Linked DNA regions of Homo sapiens: region 2 is linked to region 1. Evidence: promoter capture Hi-C in 16 types of primary human blood cells and fetal thymus (Javierre and others, 2016). All regions are on one chromosome and are shown on one strand. Each heading gives the region's core, a stretch centred on a gene start or on the middle of the fragment in contact. The rest is flanking DNA. Distances are from core to core; before and after follow the strand shown. Region 1 holds the start of KANSL3 (KAT8 regulatory NSL complex subunit 3). Region 2 has its middle 56 kb from the start of NCAPH.

What was found. Contacts are between HindIII fragments. The CHiCAGO score rates a contact against its expected background, and 5 or more counts as called.
Region 2: a contact is called between a fragment that was not itself captured here and the fragment with the promoter of KANSL3 in region 1, in 1 of 17 cell types (activated CD4 T cells). The highest score is 5.5, in activated CD4 T cells.

What each region holds. Positions count from the first base shown.
Region 1 is chr2:96,636,214-96,640,585 of GRCh38, forward strand. It overlaps KANSL3 (KAT8 regulatory NSL complex subunit 3), which reads right to left and starts at 2,099. Exons shown (of 21, transcript NM_001115016.3): 1 at 2,070-2,099; 2 at 708-972. The coding sequence starts at 922. RefSeq lists a silencer at 1,819-2,028. The HindIII fragment of the contact is 21,308 bases long and covers 1-4,372 here.
Region 2 is chr2:96,389,657-96,394,028 of GRCh38, forward strand. No RefSeq gene overlaps it. Among named protein-coding and RNA genes, the nearest start is that of NCAPH, 56 kb to the left of the region's middle. The HindIII fragment of the contact is 6,592 bases long and covers 1-4,372 here.

The DNA of each region.
Region 1 (4,372 bases), core at 849-3,348:
TTTGATCACCATAACGGAATATATCAACACATCATGAAACATAATTAGAATGCCTTAAAGTGCAAAAGAACTGGCAAACAGGTTTATTTAGACCAAATGTAACTGTATCACTCATCAGGTAGTCAATTTATGAAACTTCCTTACCCTATAACATAGGCTGGGTGAAAATATCATTAGACATAAGAAGGGTTTAGATTAACCTATGGATAGCAGCTCTGTAACAAGGGAAGAGAAAAAGCAACGTCTTGGGAATTGGCTCCTAACCTTCGTGTGTGAAACCAAGAAAAGCAAAATGCATTACTATAAAAAGGCTATTGTTGCCACTGTCAAGCAACCCAGAGCACTGGACTAATGTGATAAAAGAGTCGTATCCTGTGGGTAATCTTTTAAAATCAACTTTTCAGTCTTTTTCTTCACCAGTTAAATAACCCTCTACGATTTTCCCCTTTCCACACGTCCTACTATCTAAGTGGAATAGGTTGTCTGCTTTTCATTTGCACGTCTTGCTTTCCTAACTCTTGTTAGCTGTCTCACAGAGATAGCCACATTCAAGCCTGCTATCCTTATGCTGCTTAAGAGATGCCTGAATTTAACATCCAAATGCCTCATACAATCTCCCCCAGTCAATCCTGAGAAAATCCTCTCTAAATTCCCATCTGATCACTGCCCAGTGAGGTTACCAGCAGCCCTTAGAAGCCCCAACTCACATGGTACTTTCGTGCTGCCGCCGGGGAGTGACAAAGAGCATGCGGGTGGGGCGGGCACTACTGGCATCTGGGTGGGCACTCCAAGGCTTGGCATAGCTATGATCCAGAAAAACCAGGTCCAGCTCCCGTTCATGCACTGAAAGCTGGAAGAGCAGCGAGGTGCCCATGCGTCGAGCTGAAGTCTGGAAGTCCCTCTCCCCACCCCGGTGGGCCATGTCAGTGGAGGGGCAGAAAGTCAGAGCATGGGTATCTGCATGCTAGTCACCTGCAGTGAAAAGTTTCAGTTTAGGTCAATTCCAATATCCTAAATTTCTCCCAATCTACACCATCTAACATGCTTACTTTTGTAACCTACTATCATTCCTATTGAGTATCCATTTCACGGCAGACCTCTGGTGGGGACGGTTCGTGGAATCCCACACCAACACCAAAAAAAAAGAAAAAAAAAACTATGGTGCCACGAGTTGTCCCATACTCAACCTCTAGCGAACTGAAATTACCTAACGGGAGAGCTCACCGACCCCAAGGTTCAGAAAGACCTCGCGTGGACAGACAGTAAACTTGCTTGGCCAGCACCACTTCCTAGGTGGGCAGGAAGGGTTTTGACAAACAGGAAATCACAAATATGAATTCGTTGAAAGCTAAGGATCTCTGTTGCTTCACACCATCCTCTAACGACAATGCGAAGGGAGCCGGGGCCGCAGCTAGAGCGTGGGCACCCCTAAAGGGCAGGGCAACGCCGGCCTCAAAAAAGCGAATCCCAGCTAGGGCTCCACTTCTTCAAGCCTCTCGTATTGTGCGAAACAAAAGTTCTGTTAAGTACTTCGTAATATTCCAGAGTTGTTTACATAAAAATGAAAACTGCCCCCCCAACAAAGCCTGTGACAAAATGATCCCCGTGGAAGCCCTTTCACCCTCACCCCCAGTGAGGCGTCCCTAGCAAACCGCCCAGGACCCCGGCTGCCCCGCAGGCGTTCCCGCCACTGAGCCTCCACACGGCCCATCTAGGAGACAGGGCTATGACTCGCATTTTACAGACGAAGTCGCCAGCTCGGGGAACTGAAGCGATTTGGCCAAGGTCATCCAGAGTTCGCGACGAGGAGGAGCCGCCTGGCCCCCGCCTCCCGCCTCCCGCTCCCTGGGGCAGGGCTCGGCGTCCGCGTCACGGAGGCCCAGACGCGGCCCCTGCCAGCCCGCCCCCGGCCCGACCCGCCCCGCCCGACCAGCACCGGCAGCCGGCCCTAGCCCGGGCCCCCGCATGCCCCGGGAGCCCTGAAGCCCTCGCCGAGACCCCCGGCCGTCCCAACCACGGCCGCGATCCCCACGGCCCGCCACTCCCCTCGAAGCCAACGCTGCTCTCACCCGCGGTCTTACGGCCGCGCGCTCGGCCACGGCCGGATCCCTAAGCGCGTGCGCGTTAACGCCTCCACGCCCCGGCGCTGCGGGCACCGAGTAAAACGCGGAAGCGGGTTACGGCCTGGGAAGGGAGAGGCGGTGAGCGGCAAAGCCCGGAACGGATGAAGCTCCGGCGCCTCTGTCCGGAAGAGGAGAGCCAAGAACACGCGAGCATGTCCGAAGCAGAAAGTCAACAACTAGGCTGGAGTTTCCCCCTCGCGCATATTCAGTAGGGAAAGCGAGGGCGGAGGACTAGGCTGGCTTCTACGGCCCCAGTTCTCGCCACCCCCACCGTGTTGGTCCTTTGTGCCCTCTGGGCGGTCGAGCACCCAACGGTCCACCTCCACCAGGGCAGCCACCTGAATTTACTCATTAAGAATTTACCTAATGTGGCTCACGCCTGTAATCCCAGCGCTTTGGGAGGCCTAGGCGGGAGGACCTCTTGAGCTCAGGAGTTTGAGATGAGCCTGGCCAATATGATGAGACCCCCGTATCTACAAAAAATTTTAGAAATTAGGTGTGTGTGATAGTGGTGTATGCCTGTAGTCCCAGCTACCCGGGAGGCTGAGGTGGGAGGATCACTTGAGTCTGGGAGGTCCAGGCTGCAATGAGCCATGGTTGCACCACTGCACTCCAGCCTGGACGACGGAGTGAGACTACGTCTCAAAAAAAAAAAAAAAGAATTTTGTTACTGACCCTAGATTGTTTTGTGTGGTTAACTTTCCTATGTGTTTTGTGTAGAGAGAGTAGATCCTCAAAATCAGGGACATTAACCTTTGTATCCTCCAGAGAACATACACCCAGAACATAGGTAATTGTTCAAATGTTGACTGATCAATAATTGGTTATTTGGTTGACTGACTGACAACATGACATCAAGAGACATGAGACAAGACAGCAAGAGACATGGTTCAAGATGATAAATCTCACCCGGGATCTGTGGCTCATGCCTATAATCCCAGTACTTTGGGAGGCCAAGGTGGGAAGATTGCTTGAGCCCAAGAGTTCAAGACTAGCCTGCACAAAACAGTGAGACTTCGTTTCTATTTAAAAAAAGAAATGGCCGGGTGCGGTGGCTCACGCCTGTAATCCCAGCACTTTGGGAGGCTGAGGAGGGTGGATCACGAGTTCAGGAGTACAAAACCAGCCTGGCCAACATAGCGAAATCCTGTCTCTACTAAAAATACAAAAATTAGCCAGGTGTGGTGGCGCATGCCTGTAATCCCGGCTACTCGGGAGGCTGAGGTGGGAGAATCTCTCAAACTCAGGAGGCAGAGGTTGCGGTGAGCCAAAATCGCGCCATTGCACTCCAGCCTGGGCGACACAGCAAGACTCTGTCTCAAAAAAAAAAAAAAGATAGGTACAGACATGCAAACACTCGAAACATTCAGAAAGCCACTCAAAGCTGTGTTCCACAAAGATGAGAGGGTAAACTGAGAAGACGGAAGGCATAGGATCGGGGAAGCAGGGTCTAACACAAGAAGCAGACGAGGAATTCTGAAGGTGATGGCAAAGAGTATCCCAGGACAATAGCTATGCTGCAGGACTGGGGACCACTAGTCTCAGCTGGGGGAGAAGAGAAGACCAGGAGGGAGAGCCCCGGGGAAAACAATAAAACTGGGAAAATGCCTCATAGATTTGAAAAAATCAAGGAATGCTATTTAAAAGTGCTGTTTAGAAATATGGAGCTTAAGGCCATAGAAATTATCACAAATAGAGCAGCCCCTGCCCCACCTCTCCCTACCCTTAACTTTGTCTCCTGGGCGCTTGTTTGGGGCCAGGGTTCTGCTATTTCTCTACTTATATTCCCATTCCCACTAAAAACAGATTTGTATCTTTTCTCTGCCCCTTCCTTTCCTCAGCACACCACGTTTATCATTTTGTTTCATTCTTTGCCAATTTAAGAGGTGATAAATGGTATCTTATCCCATTTATTTGCTTATTAATGAGTTTTTTGTTTTGTTTTGTTTTTGTTTTTTTGAGACAGAGTCTCTCTCTGTCGCCCAGGCTGGAGTGCAGTAGCGTGATCTCGGCTCACTGCAACCTCCACCTCCCTGGTTCAAGCGATTCTCCTGCCTCAGCCTCCCGAGTAGCTGAGACCACAGGCGTGTGCCACCATGCTCGGATAATTTTTTGTATTTTTAGTAGAGACGGGGTTTCACTGTGTTAGCCCGGATGGTCTCGATCTCCTGACCTCGTGATCCGCCCGCCTTGGCCTCCCAAAGTGCTGGGATTACAGGCGTGAGCCACCGTGCCCAGTGAGTTTGATT
Region 2 (4,372 bases), core at 484-2,983, 250 kb before region 1:
ATACAATGTTATAGTGACTTTGGATTCTGTCATGTTCTTCTAAAGATGCTTGGATTTTTATTCCAGTAAGCAGTTAATTGTCTGGATTCAATCTGCAAACTTCACATCCCTCACAGTGTAGTTATTGATATCTGTTCTTTTTGTGACCCGCTATTGCTTTAAGCCTGATCCCACAGGTCTTTCCTCTGCCTGCCAGATTTGGTGGCTAGCCAAGTATTTGGGCAGACATGGGGTTCATCGTGGCTGTGACTTCCTTGCTTCTAGGGATTCCCCTAATTTCCAGCCGCTCTGCCTGCTGTGTGCTCTGTCCTTAACTTCAGCTTTTTGAAACCCAAGATGCATGTGTTTGAGGCAAGGAGCATCAGACCCACAGCCCTTGTTCTGCATAGCTGTCTTTCAAGAGAAGACTCTTTCACCAGGCCCTGAGGGGTTTGCTTCACGTAGGCACAGCTGAACTGTCAGTGGAGCAAAGCAGCTCATGCCCAGAACTGTCTTGTTGTTTGCTTGTTTTGATTTTAGTTTTAGTTTAAAACTCTTCTGAGGCAGGGTGTGGTGGCTCAGGCCTGTAATCCCAGCACTTTGGGAGGCCGAGGCAGTAGGATCACTTAAGCCCAAGAATTTGAGACCAGCCTAGGCAACAGTGAGACCCTGTCTCTGAAAAAAAATCAATCAATCAATACATAAATTTTCCAGGCGTGGTGTCACACGCCTGTGGTCATAGCTACTTGGGAGGCTGAGGTGGAAGGATGGCTTGAGCCCAGGAGGTCAAGGCTACAGTGAGTTGCAATTGTGCCACTGCACTTCAGCCCGGGCGACAAAGCCAGACCCTGTCTCAAAAAACAAAAAACAACTATGGCTGAGTGCAGTGGCTTATGCCTGTAATCCCAGCACTTTGGGAGCTTGAGGCCAGAGGATCACTTTGAGGCCAGAGGATCACTTGAGCCCAAAAGTTCAAGACCAGCCTGGGCATTGTGGCGAGACCTCATCTCTACAAAAAATACAAAAATTAGCCAGGCATGGTGGCATGGGCCTGTAGTCCCAGCTACTCAGGAGGCTGAGGTGAGAGGATCACCTAAGCCCAGGAGGTCGAAGCTGCAATGAGCCGTGTTTGCACCAATTCATTCCAGCCTGGGGCTACAGAGCAAGATCCTGTCTCGAAAAAAATAAAAAATAAATAAAACTCTTCTGGTTTCTGTCTGATTTCCAGTATCTTTAAGTTTGGGGTTTTTGTTTTGTTTTGTTTTGATTTTTTTTTTTTTTTTAATACACAGAGTCTCACTCTGTTGCCCAGGCTGGAGTGCAGTGGCATGATCATAGCTCATTGTAATCTTGAACCTCTGGGCTCAAGCGATCTTCCTGCCTCAGCTTTTGGAGTAGCTAGGACAACAGGCACATGCCACTATGCCCAACTTATTAAAAAAAAAAAAAAGAAAGTTTTGTAGAGATGGAGTCTCTCTATGTTGCCAAGACTGGTCTTGAACTCCCAGCATCAAGGAATCCTTCTGCCTTGGCCTCCTAAAGTGTTAGGATTACAGGTGTGAGCCACCATACCTGGCCTTTAAGTATTTTTTTTAAATCCAGTATTTTACTGTTTTGAAAGCCCCCAGCTAAATTGGGGGTCCGGTACCACAGTGCCTAGCAACACCGCCCTAACACGAAATAAGCAGGAGCAGGATGTGGGTGTTTACACTGTGCCTTTCGTTACTTCTAACTGTGGACAGCCTGCTGCTTAGTTGTCTGATCCATGACCAGGTGTCCCTCACTGGGAAACTTGTTTATACTGGCAGACACCTGGTGGCCCTTGTCTGACCCATGTCCTGCCTGCCCATTGCTCTGATGCTAGGATCCTGACCTTGTGTTCTCCCTGGCATCCCAGGGAAAACTCCGCCTGGGGTAGCCCCTGGTTCTTCAGATGGAGGGCGCAGTACACCATAATCAGAAACAAGCTGAAAGATTTATTACTTTCAGATCCTGGGCAGGGAAGGCACAGTGAGTCAGGAGGATGTCTCCTGTCCCTGGCTCACACGAAGCAGGAACAAAGGGTCAGGCAGAAAGAGAGAGAGAGAGAGAGAGAAAGAAAGGGAGAGACAGAGAGAGAGGCAGCAACTGACAGTATGTATAAGGAGGCTCATCAGAGCCCAGGAGTATAGATAAGGAAATAGGATGTGGGTCACCTTAAGTTCATGCACAAATGCCTGAATGGTCCATTAAACAGAAGCAGCAGGAAAAGTGGGGAGCTGCTAGGTGAGAGAGCTGCTTCTAAGTTCTTACCTCTGGTCACCTGCTTGAACCATTTGGGTGTGTGGTTCTGCTTCTAATGCCTAGGCAGCAACCTTCGCTGTGTCATTCCCATGACATTTATCACTGTTGGTTTGGGGGTTGGCGTGCTCACTTAACTCCTGCCTCTACCAAATGGTCACTCTCCACCAGTTGCGTGTGTGTGTGTGTGTTTGTGTGTGTGTATTAGCCCTTGCATGTGTGTGTATTATCTTGCATTGCTGAAAAGTAATACCTGAGACTGGGTAATTTATAAAGAGGTTTAATTGGCTCATGGTTCTGCAGCCTATAGGAAGCATGACACAGGCATCAGCTCAGCTTCTGGGGAGACCTCAGGGAGCTTTTACTCACAGTGGAAGATGAAGCAGGAGCAGACATCTCACATAGCAGAGCAGGAGCAAGAGAAAGAGAGTAGGGGGCCAGGTGCAGTGGCTCACACCTGGAATCCCAGCACTTTGGGAGGCCAAGGTGGGCAGATCACTTGAGGTCAGGAGTTTGAGACCAGCCTGGCCAACATGGTTAAACCACGTCACTACAAAAAATACAAAAATTAGCTGGGCGTGGTGGTGCGCACCTGTGATCCCAGCTATTCAGGAGGCTGAGGCACGAGAATCACTTGAACCCGGAAGGTGGGGGTTGCAGTGAGTCAAGGTTGTGCCACTGCACCACAGCCTGGGTGACAGAGCAAGATCCTGTCTTTTAAAAAAAAAAAAAAGAGAAAGAGAGTGCAGTGGGGGAGATGCCACACACTTTTAAATGACCAGATCTCACGTGAACTCAGTCACTATTGCAATGACAGCACCAAGAAGATGGTGCTAAACCATTCATGAGAATTCTACACCATGTTCCAATCACCTTTCATCAGGCCCCATCTTCAATATTGGGGATTACAATTCAACATGAGATTACGTGGCATCATGTATTGAAACTGTATCAGTGTGTGATTGTATGTGTGTGTTTCCCACTGCACTCAGCACCCAAGCATGTATTGTTGACCCCACACCATCAGGTGGCCTCCGCCAGCCCTCTCCCCTCCTGTCCACTGAGCCTCCCAGCTCTTCATCCTTCCCCTGCACACTGACCTTTTATATCTGTCCCTGGAGCAAACCATGCCCATTTCCGCTTGCTGTTCCCTCTGCATGGAATGCTGTGTTCCCAGGTTTCCAAGTGTTGACTCTGCGAGAAAAGGCCACTCCAAGAAAGAGGGATCTTAAAGATTCAGCTTCCATGTTACTTCCTGGTGTGTCCTTTCCTGACCTCCCAACATATCCCCCACGTCCCTCTCACCTCAGCCTCTTTTATTGTCTCCATGGCCTTATTGCTATTGAAAATGATCTCAGTTGTTAACTCCAGAACGGTAGCTCCCTAGGGGAGGGACCTTGCCTTCCGTACCAACCGGATCTCCAGCCTCTAAAGCAATATATAGTAGGTACTCAATAAACATGTACTGAATGAGTAAGTGATCCTTTTTTTTTTTTTTTTTGACGGAGTCTCGCTCTGTCACCCAGGCTGGAGAACAATGGCGTGATCTCAGCTCACTACAACCTCCACCTCCAGGGTTCAAGCGATTCTCCTGCCTCAGCCTCCCAAGTAGCTGGGAATACAGGTGCATGCTGCCATACCCAGCTAATTTTTTTTTGTATTTTAGTAGAGACGGGGTTTCACCGTGTTACCCAGGCTGGTCTTGAACTCCTGAGCTCAGACAATCCACCCACCTCAGCCTCCCAAAGTGCTAGGATTACAGACGTGAGCCACCGCACCTGGCCAGATCCCTTTTAAAACAAAAGACAAACTGACAATTAATCAGTGAGCAACCATAGGACATAGGGTTGGAGGTGCGGGCTAGGTACTCTTAAAATTGCCTAACAGTGCAGTGCTGGACCAGACCCCTAGCCTCTGTACGCCTCAGATTCCTCATCACCAGACAGGCATAACCATCCCTGCCTTGCTTGCTTCACAGGCCTAATGTGGACCGGAGTGCTTTGGAGAAAGTTGAAACTGTACAGGTATCAAAGAATGTCTTCTAGAAGAGCTGCTCCCATAATTCTGTAGATGTATTATGCTTTTTCTTAATCCCCTGCTGAAGCAAATTGGA